Linked DNA regions of Homo sapiens: all the other regions are linked to region 1. Evidence: promoter capture Hi-C in 16 types of primary human blood cells and fetal thymus (Javierre and others, 2016). All regions are on one chromosome and are shown on one strand. The core of a region is centred on a gene start or on the middle of the fragment in contact, and the rest is flanking DNA. Distances in the headings are between cores, read along the strand shown.

Evidence for each region. The method cuts DNA at HindIII sites, captures the fragments that hold promoters and counts their contacts. A CHiCAGO score of 5 or more calls a contact.
Region 2: a fragment that was not itself captured here is called in contact with the fragment with the promoter of SLC25A52 in region 1 in 1 of 17 cell types (M2 macrophages); the score reaches 5.4 in M2 macrophages.
Region 3: a contact is called between a fragment that was not itself captured here and the fragment with the promoter of SLC25A52 in region 1, in 1 of 17 cell types (M0 macrophages). The highest score is 5.4, in M0 macrophages.

Annotation. Positions count from the first base shown.
Region 1 is chr18:31,758,678-31,763,078 of GRCh38, forward strand. It overlaps SLC25A52 (solute carrier family 25 member 52), which reads right to left and starts at 2,203. Exons shown (of 1, transcript NM_001034172.4): 1 at 907-2,203. The coding sequence starts at 1,984. The coding sequence ends at 1,091. The HindIII fragment of the contact is 4,954 bases long and covers 1-3,238 here.
Region 2 is chr18:31,557,445-31,562,117 of GRCh38, forward strand. No RefSeq gene overlaps it. Among named protein-coding and RNA genes, the nearest start is that of DSG2-AS1, 2.9 kb to the left of the region's middle. The HindIII fragment of the contact is 963 bases long and covers 1,838-2,800 here.
Region 3 is chr18:31,540,412-31,544,424 of GRCh38, forward strand. DSG2 (desmoglein 2) reads left to right here. Exons shown (of 15, transcript NM_001943.5): 13 at 782-903; 14 at 2,109-2,441. DSG2-AS1 (DSG2 antisense RNA 1) reads right to left here. Exons shown (of 6, transcript NR_045216.1): 5 at 2,691-2,984; 6 at 1,735-1,910. Among named protein-coding and RNA genes, the nearest start is that of DSG2-AS1, 14 kb to the right of the region's middle. The HindIII fragment of the contact is 3,463 bases long and covers 622-4,013 here.

The DNA.
Region 1 (4,401 bases), core at 953-3,452:
ATGGGGTGAAAACTATCCTGAGCCTTTCCCGCCCCCCGCCCCACTCTGTAATATTTAGAAACTAGGGGGAAAAAAGTGGGATTGCATTAATAGACTTACAAAACAAAATGTTATGGAAGTGTTTATTTTTTAAAAGGAGAGTTTTAAGAGAACAGGATGCTTGAATATGACCAACTCCTACTCCACGGGAAAAATAACCACAGACCTTTGCTGAGATGGCATCAATAAGTCAAAGAAACCAAGCTAAACAGAATTTGATCTATACACAATATGAAAACTTCTTAACAGGATGGAACACCTATAACAAAATTTAAGTCCCTTCATCTTTCAGCAATGAAATAAGTGAAATTAACATAAGAATATTTTGGAAGGGTTGAGGGTCACAGTCAGAATCAAACAGAAAACTTTCAAACCTAGAAAGCAAAACGGGAACTTTCATAGCTCCTTGATCTACCATATCTAAATAGAAATAGTATAATGACTATCCAATAGGTGATTAGTTTCAAAACTAATACAAGCAATGTATCATGAAAAGCCTCTACATAACAAGCTGTTTTTCTTCTCTGTTCTGCCCCTTTGTCATATGCTTGAGCTTAATGAAGACTATCCTCTGCAGCTGCTCCTGAGGGCACAGAAGAAAGCAATGGAGTAACAAAGGAAGCCTGAGGAGCCCCTGGCCCCTGAGGACCTTCTCTCTGGCCGGTCATAGCAACTTATGTTTTAATGCAGGAGATTTCAAGACTGGTTTGAGAAAAAGAATCTTATCTTGGGGATTAGGTTCCCTGTCAAAGGCCATCAGATGGACAGCTATTTACCAGGCAATTAGCCTAAAGCTCTTAGGTAATGATAAAAAAAAAAAAAAAAGAAAGAAAGAAAAAGAAAACAAAACAAAAAAAAACCCTTACATTTTCCTATTGGAACCTTTTATTCTGTTTTGTTGATGCTTAAGGAAAACAGCTTTGCCCGTAACTCACTGTGGCCTGGAGTTATGACACGAACTTGTATTTGGCCAATTAAGAAAGAGGCCAAACTGCATTCTTCTTAGAAGGTCTATTCAGTTGATAAATGGCACTTAACTGATGGTTTTTTTTCATATAAATTTTAACAAGAACTCATAAGTTGCATTGATTATGCCCCAAGAGATGAGGGACCGATGGTAATTCAGATGGGCACCTCTGAAAAGATTTATCAGTTTTCTGTCCCGTTCCAGCCAGATTTTTTGGAAAACCTTGGGGAAAGACTGAAATTCCCCACCAATCTGAGACTGTAGGCGAGTTTTTACAACATTAATTGGAAAACACAAGAATCCCAACATGGCACCCAATAGACCTCCACCGATAAAATCATTGACCAAATGAGCACTGTGAGTCGTTGCGGTAGGCAGATGCTCCTTAATGGGACCTCGAAGGCCGAAAAACAAGACATTGCTGAGTCCATTCCGGAAAAGAATGGGCACCAAGCCTCGATAATACTCTCCAATTCCATGACATTTCAGTGCCTTGAAAGCCTGATAAGTGTTGGTAAATTTGTCATGATGCTTGTGGTTTTGAAGCAATGTCTGAACTCTTTCCAGTGGAGTGAAAATTGCTTCTGCTGTCCCTGCAAGCACTGCCGCCACGCCATGGGTTGCAAACTCTGGAGCACGGACATGCTTCCGGAGAAGGCAGGATAAATCCTCATACAGACCAAACATAAGTGCAAGCGTAGTTGTCTTCTGCATCAATGGGGGAAGGATTCCACGATACAAATTTCGAAATCCATCCCTTCTCAACTGAAGTACTGCATCCCGGGTTTTGATGCCATACAGCTGTTGCCGAAAGAGGACCTTCTGAATGGGATATGTGATTGCGACGTTGTTGAAGGCTGCACAGCAGCCACACAAGTAATGCTTCATTTCACCAACATTTGTAATATGAGGTGATATATCTTGTTTTGAAGATGTAAGTATTGGTGGCCTCTTTTCATGAGCTTCTGAATCTATCATGTTGCTTAAGATCTTTCTCATGAAGGGCATTTTTTAACCTGTGACATCATCTGAGCCTGGAGTTTGGCAGGATGATAGCTTTGTGATAATGTTCCCAATTTCTTCCATTGTTATTGTTCTGTTAGGTTCTCTCTTCCCGAGTCCATTTTGATAACTGGATTTCCGTTCTCCAGGCGTCCATTTCCCCAACCCATCGCCGCCGGCGCCCCGCAGGACTGCGAGCAAGCCGGGACCTGCGCAGGCGCAGACCATGACCGACCCCGGGGCGGGGGCGCAGCGTGACGCTCTGGGCGCCGCTGGGATCCGAGAAGAAACCCTTTTAAAGCAAGCATGGCAATTTCTTCTAAATAAGCTGGATAAAATTAAAAACTCATTCATCCAAAGATCCTAAAAAATCAACAAATTCCTAAATATTAAATGGTATAGACACAAGTGTTTCTTAAATCACATAACCTTCTCCACGGACACTGTGAAGATGTGTTGCCAGTGGCTTCCCTAAGAGACTGTGAAACTTTTTAAATAGTGTATACATACAAGAAAAGTGGATTTTAGTGTAATCTTGCAGAAGAACAAAACAAACATGGTATCTAAGAGTACAAAGGCACAAAAGTTGAAATTTCATAGTCACTCAGGCCTTGGAGTACTGTATTTTCTTGAAAGGGAAAAAAGTAGGCCAGGTGCAGTGGTTCACACCTGTAATCCCAGCACCTTGGGAGGCCAAAACGGGAGGATCGCTTGAGGCTAGGAATTTGAGACCAGCCTGGGCAACATAGCAAGACCCCTGTCTCTACCCAAAAAAAGAAAAAAGAAAAGAAAGAAAAAAGTAGGTGGTAAGGAGAAGTAAGGAGAAGATGAATTTTTTTTTTAAAAAAAGTTCTGTATACCACATGAAATTTTACTGGGAGGAAAGTGTCTGAGGTTTTAAGAGGCATAAATTAAATAACCTTGAAACCCATTTTGCTCTAGGACTACCCATGTGTTTTCTAGAGTAACCAATGTGTATATTCCATGTATGTGAATGAGAGATGAAAGGAAACAAAAATAACTTCCCTTCCAGGAACAGTGGAAGGCTTCAGCCAACAAAGTAGGTCACAGCATCAGACTACATTGCCTGCTGATGTGTACTGCCTAGTTTTTGAATAGAATCAAATGACAGCTTCCTTGAGATTAAATGACAGTTTCCCTGACCATCATCTTAAAGCACGCCTATGGTGGATCGCTCTAGAATGAACCATAAACCCGAAGTTCTCTTTAAGCTTTAGTGAAACGAAATAGTAAAAGCTTTTCACGGAAAGAGAAGGGAGTCTCCAACATTTATACTGATTGATTTTGGCAGCAATGACTTTCATTAGAAATGTAATTGCTGGGTATGCAAAAATTAGCACTGTTGGGGCTAGAGAGATCTTTGTTTTCCTTTCTTTTGTTTTGTTTTGCTTTTTTGCCTAATATTGATAGTGTTTTCTCGGTTTTGCCATAGCCCTTCTGTCAAGATGCTGGCAATCAGTATATCATGAAAAACAGACTGCCCTTTCTCGCATTTATTGAAGAGAGATTCTCATGATCCTATGGTAAGATAACAATTGCTTTTTTTCAATCCATCCTCCACACTGCAGCCAAAGCAGTCATCTTAGTAACAAACGTGAGCACGTTTTCCCTCACTTAAATCTTTAAATGATTTTACACCTGAAGGACAAAGGTCCCCCATGGTCTGACGTTTTCCTACCCTTGGCGCCATCTGCCTTCACATTTCTAAAGGCACCTTCCGTCCCCGCCATATCAAACTACTCGGGGTCTCCAGAATGAAGAATAATGTGCCATCTGACACTCCTTTGTCTTTATTCGGTTATTGCCTCTGCCTGAAATGTCCTTACTTCTAGTTCCTACTCAGCTTCTGGAAGCCTTCGCTAACTCCTTAGTCCAAATGAGGACCCCTTCTCCACAACACACCCTATACACACTGTGAGTGTGGCACGTGTCACACTGTACAATGTCCACGATTCACAATGCTGAGGGCTTCTTGAAGACACAGTCCACTTCTCATTGAACTTTATTCCAGTTTGTGTCCCCAGTGTCCAGGCATCTGGTTAGGTCTCCAACTGCTTAAGAGTGTAAAGAGTGTTGATGAGTTCTGTATTACTCATGGGTCTTGGTTATAAGAGCCAAAAATACCATTCCAACTGAAGCAAGCAAATCTAGGGGGTAAGGAAAGGAGAAGGAAGAAGGAAGATGAGAAGGAGGTAAGAAATCAGGAAAGGATTTAAAAAGGTGGCATCTGGGCAACATTTAAGGCAATTTTCCAGCTTCTCTCATTTGCACCAGTAGGAGTGGGCCATGTGGCCACAGAGGAGAACATTTCCGAATACCCTTCTGGATCCTGCTGATTTTGGGGGGTACTTACCTCCTTCTGTCCTCAGCAC
Region 2 (4,673 bases), core at 1,069-3,568, 200 kb before region 1:
CTCCGTCTCAATAAATAAATAAATAAATAACCAGCCTCAGGTATTTCTTTATAGTAATGCAAAAATGAACTAATCCAGAGAGTAAGTAAACAGGAGGAAGGACCACCTAGATCAGAAGCTTACCTCACACAGGTGAGGGTGGCTAGCGGGTAAGGGATTAGAGGCGGTGAGCACAGCAGAAGGTGTGGGTGAAGAGGCAGGTACAGGCCACCCTGTGGAGGACTTGGAACAGCAGCTAAGGCTGTGGGACCAGACTCTTTATGCAGTAAAGAGCCACAGACAATTGTGAGCAAGACACCTTATAACCAGGTTTTAGAAAGAATCCTCAGCTGGAAGGAGGAGATTCTGCAGGAAGAGGGTGGGGGAAAGTTGAAGTTAACTCCAACCAAAGTCAACCTTAAATATTAACCTTTTTTTCTTCTGACTTTCATTGACTTTTCCGTGCATTTTCAGTGCCCTTTTCTTGCTGTAAAGTAAATTTTAAATATTATGTCAATAGGTCACAGAGGCAACAGACAGGCAAGGTATGGTTATGAGAAAAACATTTCCCTAAACAAAATTAGAAGACAGCATTTGATGAAAGATTTTTTTCCTAACTTGTGAGTTTGTTTACATAAAAACACTTACAAAATTAGTCAATCAAAATAACATGGAGTCATTTACTTAAAGAATTCCTTACGTTTAAAAATAAAGTACTTGAATATGGAATCAACCTAAGTGTCCATCAACTTAAGTGTCCAATTTAATCCATCAACTGGATTAAAAAACTGTGGTACATATATACCACGGGATAATACTCAGCCATAAAAAAGAATGAAATCATGTCTTCTGCAGCAACATGGATGGAATTGGAGGCCATTAACCTAAGTGAAATAACTCAAAAACAGAAAGTCATTTGAGACCAGCCTTACCAACATGGAGAAGCCCCATCTCTACTAAAAATATAAAATTAGCCGGGTGTGGTGGTGCATGCCTGTAATCCCAGCTACTCGGGAGGCTGAGGCAGGAGAATCGCTTGAACCTGGGAGGCGGAGGTTGCGGTGAGCCGAGATCTCACCATTGCACTCCAGCCTGGGCAACAAGAGTGAAACTCTGTCTCAAAAAAAAAAAAAAAAAAAAAACCGTATGTTCTCACTTATAAGTGGAAGCTAAACAGTGGGTACACGTGGGCATACAGAGTGGAATAATAGACACTGGGGACTCCAAAAGGTGAGAAGGGAGGAGAAAGTAAGGATTGAAAAATTACCTCTTGGGTACAACGTTCACTGTTCCGGTGATGGGTACACTAAAAAGCCTAGATGTAACTGTTATGCAATCCGAGCATGTAAACAATCTGCAGCCGGGCTTGGTGGTTCATGCCTGTAATCCCATCACTTTGGGAGGCCAAGGCAGCAGGATTGCTTGAGCCCAGGAGTTCTAGACCAGCCTGGGCAACATAGTGAGACCTCGTCTTTACAAAAATTTTAAGAAATTAGGTGGCCATGGTGGTGTACACCTGCGGTCTCAGCTGCTTGGGCGGCTGACATGGGAAGATCACTAGAGCCCAGGAATTCAAGGCTGCAGTGTGCCATGACTGTGCCACTGTACTCCAGCCCAGATGACAAAGACTATGCTTTAAAAAAATGAAAATTTAAAAATCCTGCACTTGTACCCCTGAAATATATAAAAATAGAAACAGAAACATAAATAATAATAAAATGCATTTCTTTTACACATAAAACAAATAAAAGTAAAGTACTTGAAATTAGACGATTCCAGAAAATTGTTGACATGTTTGTTCCCCTAACAATTTGGTACTTTGGTCTCCTTTATGAAACTGTGAAAGCTCCGAGCCAAAAGCTTTGTCTTTCTTCATTCTTGCATCTTTAGTACATATCACAATGCTTTATATATGACACGTGCATGACTATTTGTTGTTAATTGAATGGTATATCATATTTCAATAGACATTTTCCCCAACATTCTATTGGAAAACTTTTCACACACATAGCAAACTGAAAGAATTTTCAGTGAACACTTGAATTTCTACCACCAAGATTTCACTATTAATATTTTACTGTTCTTAGTTTATTACATATCTATCCATGTCTGTATCCATTGATCAATCCATCTTATTTCTCTTGGTGAATTTCAAATTAAATTATAGCCATAAGTATACTTAAATACATCCATACGCTGAACACATCAGAGTTGAATTACAGTTCAAGATTTATTTACATTTTTTTTCTTCTGAGGCAAAATCACATAGCATGAAATGCACCAATTTTAAGTGTACATTTGCTAAGTTTTGAAGAATGCATACACCCGTGTAACCAAACCCCTTTCAAGATGTGAAAATGACCATGACCCCAGAAAATACCAATACCTCTTCCTGCTCAGGCCTCATCTCTATCTCTGAGAGGCAATGACTTTTTTATTTAAATTTTTTTTAGTTTTGCCTCTCCTAGAACTTTATATAAATGGAGTCATATAGTGTGGACTCTGGAATAGACTTCTATCACTCAGCATAATTTTTTGAGATTCATCTAGGTTGTGTGTACCAGTAACACATTTCTTTTTGTAGAAAAGAAACTATTTTGCAATGGAATGCAGTAGCGTTCTATTGTATAATTATGTCAAAATTGTTTTTCCATTCTCATATTGATGGACACCCAGACTGTCTTCAGTTTTGTGTTATCAAAAATGAAGCTACTATAAACATTCATGTTCAAGCCTTGGTGGCCATATGTTTTCATTGCTCTGGGGCAAATACCTAAATTGCTGGGTCATGGGGTAAATGTATGTGTAGACATTTTTTAGAAGCTTTTTTTTTTTTTTAACAAAAATGCCAGGCTATACTTACCATGCTTTTTCTCTCCTAGTTTGCCAATTTATTATTTATTTATTTATTTATTTTCTTGAGACAAGGTCTCACTCTGTTGCCCAGGCTGGAGTGCAGTGGCACAATCATAGCTCACTGCAGCCTCAATCTCCCAGACTCAAGTGATCCTTCTGCCTCTGCCTCCAGAGTAGATGGGACCACAGGCACGCACCACATCAAGCTATTTTTTTTATATATTTTTTGTAGAGATGGGGATTTGCTATGTGGCCAAGGCTGGTTTTGAACTCCTGGGCTCAAGTGATCCTCCCAACTCGGCCTCCCAAAGTGCTGGCACTGCCCCTGGACTAGCTTGCCAATTTAAAAGAAATCCCTGAGTAAGAGCACCCAAGGTCCGCTGAATGCCCTTCACCTCACTCGGAATTCTAGAGCATCCGAGGATCTTTCCATTCCATATGATACACACCCTACCACACACTCAACCAACAGCTGACTGGATGAGAGAGGTACTGAACCTAAAAGTGGCCATCTGCAGGTTGTCTAGAAGCCCAAGAGATAGACTGTTCAAAGATCTGGCCACAATGGGATGACAAAGAATAATCAGTCCAGCTAACTCCCTTCTTATTAATTAGAAATGGAGACACTGGAAAGAGACATTTAGTTAAAAGTGGACACAGAAGGAAAAAGACACACAAGCAAAGCATTCTTCAGATTTCTTTGAGAGCAGCTAAATTGATGGTTAAAGAGACATGCGGAAATTCATGCTTTTCTAAGGAATGAGCTCTTTAGGAGTTTCTCTTGCAAACAAAGAGAAATAAAATTCCCACATAATCTGGAGCACTCTAAGGAAGGGTAGAAAAATCCATGTTCTTGCTAGTACAGGACTTAGAGTCTTAAAAATTAGAGAAATTCGTTTAAGATTTATAGTCTTAAAAATTAGAAAAATCCACCCACCTGATCCACATTGAGAAGCTGGAATGAAATAAAAATAAAGATAATGATTAAAAGGAATATTCCCTCAATATTTCCACTCCCTGCATCCCCGACCCGTCTGCGTCTCCCTCTACTCTCATACATACTCCAGTAATATTTGGCCAAAAGTAGAAGCCAGGGGGTTAGAAAAAGAAATAGGATAAACCAAGACAAACTATCAAGGAAGTAAAAGGAACATAGAGGCAAACAAAATCCTCATGTCTCTTTCCCCCTCCTCCTGACATAGCCCTGATAACTAGGGAGGAAGAGCATCTGCTACCGGGTGCATCCTCTGAACATTCCAATGACCCGACCCATGGAAAGAGAACCAAATTCTTCAGCCCAGCTTCTAGGATCTTACCTCAAGAGAGTCTTAAAATTATGAAAAGATATGTATATAAGGATGTTTGCTACTATGTTGTTTATCATGTAAAAATTGTAAACAGCAGGTTATTGGTAGAGTTCCTTCAAAATGAGCTGTGGGCCGGGTGTGGTGGCTCACACCTGTAATCCCAGCACTTTGGGAGGCCAAGATGGGAGGATTACCTGAGGTCAGGAGTTCAAGATTAGCCTAGCCAACACGGTGAAACCCCATCTCTACTAAAAATACAAAAAGTTAGCCATGTGTGGTGGCGGATGCCTGTAATCCCAGCTACTGAGGTGGCTGAGGCAGAAGAATTGCTTGAACTCGGGAGGCGGAGCTTGCAGTGAGCCGAGATCACGCCACTCCTCTCCAGCCTAGGTAACAGAGCGAGACTCCATCTCAAAAAAAAAAAAAAAAAAGAAAAAAATCAGCTCTGTGCAGTGCTACATGTGGATTAATGAAGCATTGAAAGTTACAACCCTTTTGGTAATTGCAAGGGAACCTGGAATAGATCTACCC
Region 3 (4,013 bases), core at 1,103-3,602, 220 kb before region 1:
TGGGACTGTATCTTTTGCTCAGGGATTCCTTGCACTGCTTTCTCATCTCAGATTCCCTGGAGCCTAATGTGGTACTTGGCACATAATAGACACTTGATGAATGTTTGTTAAAATTGTTGAATTGCCACTGGCTGATTTCAGTCTTCTTATTAATCGTAGTAGCTGTAGTTAATGTGCTGTTGACTGTTTGACATAAAAACGAATCTAGGCAGTAGCCAGTTCATCATTGGAAGCTGCCAAATGGGAGTGGCAGATGGGCATGCAGGTGTGTTTAATTCTTTACTACATTGATCAAGGGGTCAGCCTTGGTCTTTGCTTCCTCCTAGGGGTAAAATAAAATCTAAGAAGAGGGCTCTGAAATTGTTATATGTTTCACTTTATTATTTCTAATTACTGTTTTCAATAGTACATATATTTTTGCAACAGTGATTTTTTTTTAATTGGACCATAGTTTTAAAAAAATTAATCTTTAAGCTGGTTTTGATGATTTGGATACTATCTGAACCTAGTCTTGGTATTCCACTCAGCAGCCACAGACAGCCTCTTTTTGATGAACAAGGCCTTGAATCTGTAAGACTCCCTCATCCTGCCTTCGGGTTTTGGAGTAATTCACCCAAAACAAGCTTGGTAAGGTTGGATCAGGGTGAAGAAAAGAAAAATAGAGCTGTAAATAAGTGAAGACAAGTCCAGGAAGGGACATGCAAATTCCAAAATTGTGCAATATAAATTTAGAAATATATCAAGGTTAACCTTATCTGTGTTCAATTTTGTGTCTGTACAGTGGTACCACTTTTACTGCTGATGTGCCATTGCGGAAAGGGCGCCAAAGGCTTTACCCCCATACCTGGCACCATAGAGATGCTGCATCCTTGGAATAATGAAGGAGCACCACCTGAAGACAAGGTCAGTGGATCAGATGTCAATATGACTTGTCTTCTTCTTGGGTTTTAAAGGGGCCTAGGGAAGTGTTTCTTACATGTTTGGTTGAGTGAGTAAAGTGATCACTATGGATTTCACTCATGTGCCTTTGTTAAGCAAAGAGTTCAAATGACAGCATATTTTGTGTTTGTTGCTGGGGCAGAATTGAGATAGTTTTACTCTGTTTTGACACTTCCCATGTTGTAGAGAATGTAGAGCAAGGTTCAGGAAGAGCAAGAGTGTGTAGGAATCTAAGTCTTTTGTCCTAACATTAAATGGGCAGTTTTCATAACCAGGAACTGCTTCATTTCCATTTCCCTCAATACATAGGGTTTGCAGAGGTAAGCCCACAACCCCCATGACACTTGTAAAATGTTGCAAAACCCCATTTCCCAACTACATCATAGCCATATCCCTTTGTCTCTCTGTTGCACCTTCACCCTGGACCTCTCACCACCATCTGTTATGAGCACCATTTCTAATAGGATAGGATTTAGCATCAGGTGGCAGAGAACTCAGAATAACAGTGGCTTAATCCTAAAATGGGCATTCCAAGATCAACATGATGATTCATCCGCAGCATGGTCCCCAGTTCCCTCTTCCTTGTTTTTCTTCCATGGTTGAGTTCCATTCCCACACTGTCCTCATGTCCTAGTTCTAGCTACCTAGCTGCCGTCCCCACATTCTAACCAGCACATGGGAGAAAAGTGAAGAACCCTCTTTAAGCACACTTCCCGGAACTTGTGTACACCATTTCTGCTTCATTCACATTGACCACAGTTTAGTCAGGTGGCTATACCTAGTGGCATCAGAGGCTTAGAAATATAGTCTTTATTTTGGGTGGCCATGGATCCAGGTCAAAACAAAGTTAAGAATTCTGTAACTATAGAAGAAGGTATCAAACTGTAGAGGGAGGTTGAAATGCCATTGGTCGCATAGAGTAAAGGAGCTGAGACTGTTTGGGCTTTGTTTTCTCTTTGGGTTCTATCCACCTATAAAACAAGAAGAGAGAAGAAAGGAGATCTTCATAAGACTTACATAAGTTATTCAACTCAAAATACTTTTTCTAACTGGCCTCAGTGGAAATAGCTTATACCTTCCTATGCCCACTTGACTCAGATCCTTCTACCAAGGATGAAGGATTCCCTCCATCCTCCTGACTCAGTTCTCAGCTGTGTTTGCTCTCACAGGTGGTGCCATCATTTCTGCCAGTGGATCAAGGGGGCAGTCTAGTAGGAAGAAATGGAGTAGGAGGTATGGCCAAGGAAGCCACGATGAAAGGAAGTAGCTCTGCTTCCATTGTCAAAGGGCAACATGAGATGTCCGAGATGGATGGAAGGTGGGAAGAACACAGAAGCCTGCTTTCTGGTAGAGCTACCCAGTTTACAGGGGCCACAGGCGCTATCATGACCACTGAAACCACGAAGACCGCAAGGGCCACAGGGGCTTCCAGAGACATGGCCGGAGCTCAGGCAGCTGCTGTTGCACTGAACGAAGAATTCTTAAGAAATTATTTCACTGATGTAAGGATGAGTTTTATGTATTGGTGGTGGGGGGTGGGGGGAACATTTGTATGTGAATGTGATATTATTAGGGTAATCATTGCCTTGGATCCAAATGAGACTTTGGGTTTTTTTTTTTTTTCTTTTTTCAGGGAATACTTATAGGCAATAAGGAAAGAGAAATGGGACCCACAGAATCAGTCGGTGTTAGCTAAATTATGCTGCAGTAACCATGATCTTAGTTCTCACACAGGCATATTTCTCACTTACAGTTATGTTTTTGCCAGTCAGTCAGCTCTGCTTTCCTTCATGATGTCTTCATATCAAGATGCACACTGAGAGAGCAGATTGTACCTGGGAAGCTGCCGTCCTTGTGACCCAAAGAAAAGAACAAGGCAGAACCAGGCAATGGCTCTCAAAGCCTCCACCTTTTTACACCACATTTCATTGACCAAAGCAAGTCATATGACCAAGACAGATGTCAGTGGGTCGGAAAGTTGCATCCCTCTGCAGGAGCAGGCTTGGTAGGGATGAGCTCCGTAGGAGAGGCAGAGGATATATAACCTAAAAAACACAATCTATTAAGTCCATTTAAATTTTACCTTCTGTATGAGAGTACTTGGCTTTGCTATTATGAGGGTCCACCAAAAAATGATGAGAAAAGTTCCAGGAAGATGATCAGATGCAATAAGGAAGCTCATGCTAGAATTGAGGAATTAGAAGCAGAACTGAAAATAAAAGTATAATGTAGAGGTCAGGCACAATGGCTCATGCCTGTGATCCCAGCACTCTGGGAGGTCAAGGCAGGCAGATCACTTGAGCCCAGAAGTTCAAGACCAGCTTGGGCAATATGTTAAAACCCTATCTCTCCAAAAATACAAAAAATTAGCTGGGCATGCTGGCACACACCTGTAGTCCCAGCTACTCAGAAGGCTGAGGTAGGGGGATCACTTGAGCCTGGAAAGCCAAGGATGCAGTGAGCTGTGATCATACCACTGCACTCCAGCCTGGGCAACAGAGTGAAACTCTGTCTAAAAAAAAAAAAAAAAAAAAGTATAACATAGAGATAAAGTATACTTCAGAACAAGGAATATTACCAGGAATAATGAGGGATAGTTCATAATGAAAAATGAGTCAGTTCATCAGGAGGCCTGAAACTCCTAAATATGTCAGAACCTAATAACAGAAATTTTTAAAACTTAAAGCAAAAACAACTGAAAGAGAAACAGACAAATTCATAATGATAGTTGGAGAGTTCAACCTGATCTATCAGTAAATGAAAGAACAAGTGACAGAATCAGTAAGCATATAGAAAACTTAGTACTGTGAACCAAATGGATCTAGTTGATACTGACAGAACACTCTATGCAACAGAAGCAGAATACACATGCTTTTTCATATAGACTGTATTCTAGAACATTAAATAAATGTAAATAACTTTTAAAGAACTGCAGTCATACAATGTACTTTGATGAAAAAAAAATTAAAACCAGAGATCAGTAACAAAGAGATATATAAAATATACTCAAATATTTATAAATACACATGACTGCAAATTAAATTATACTTCATGAAAATTTGTGGGGTACTACT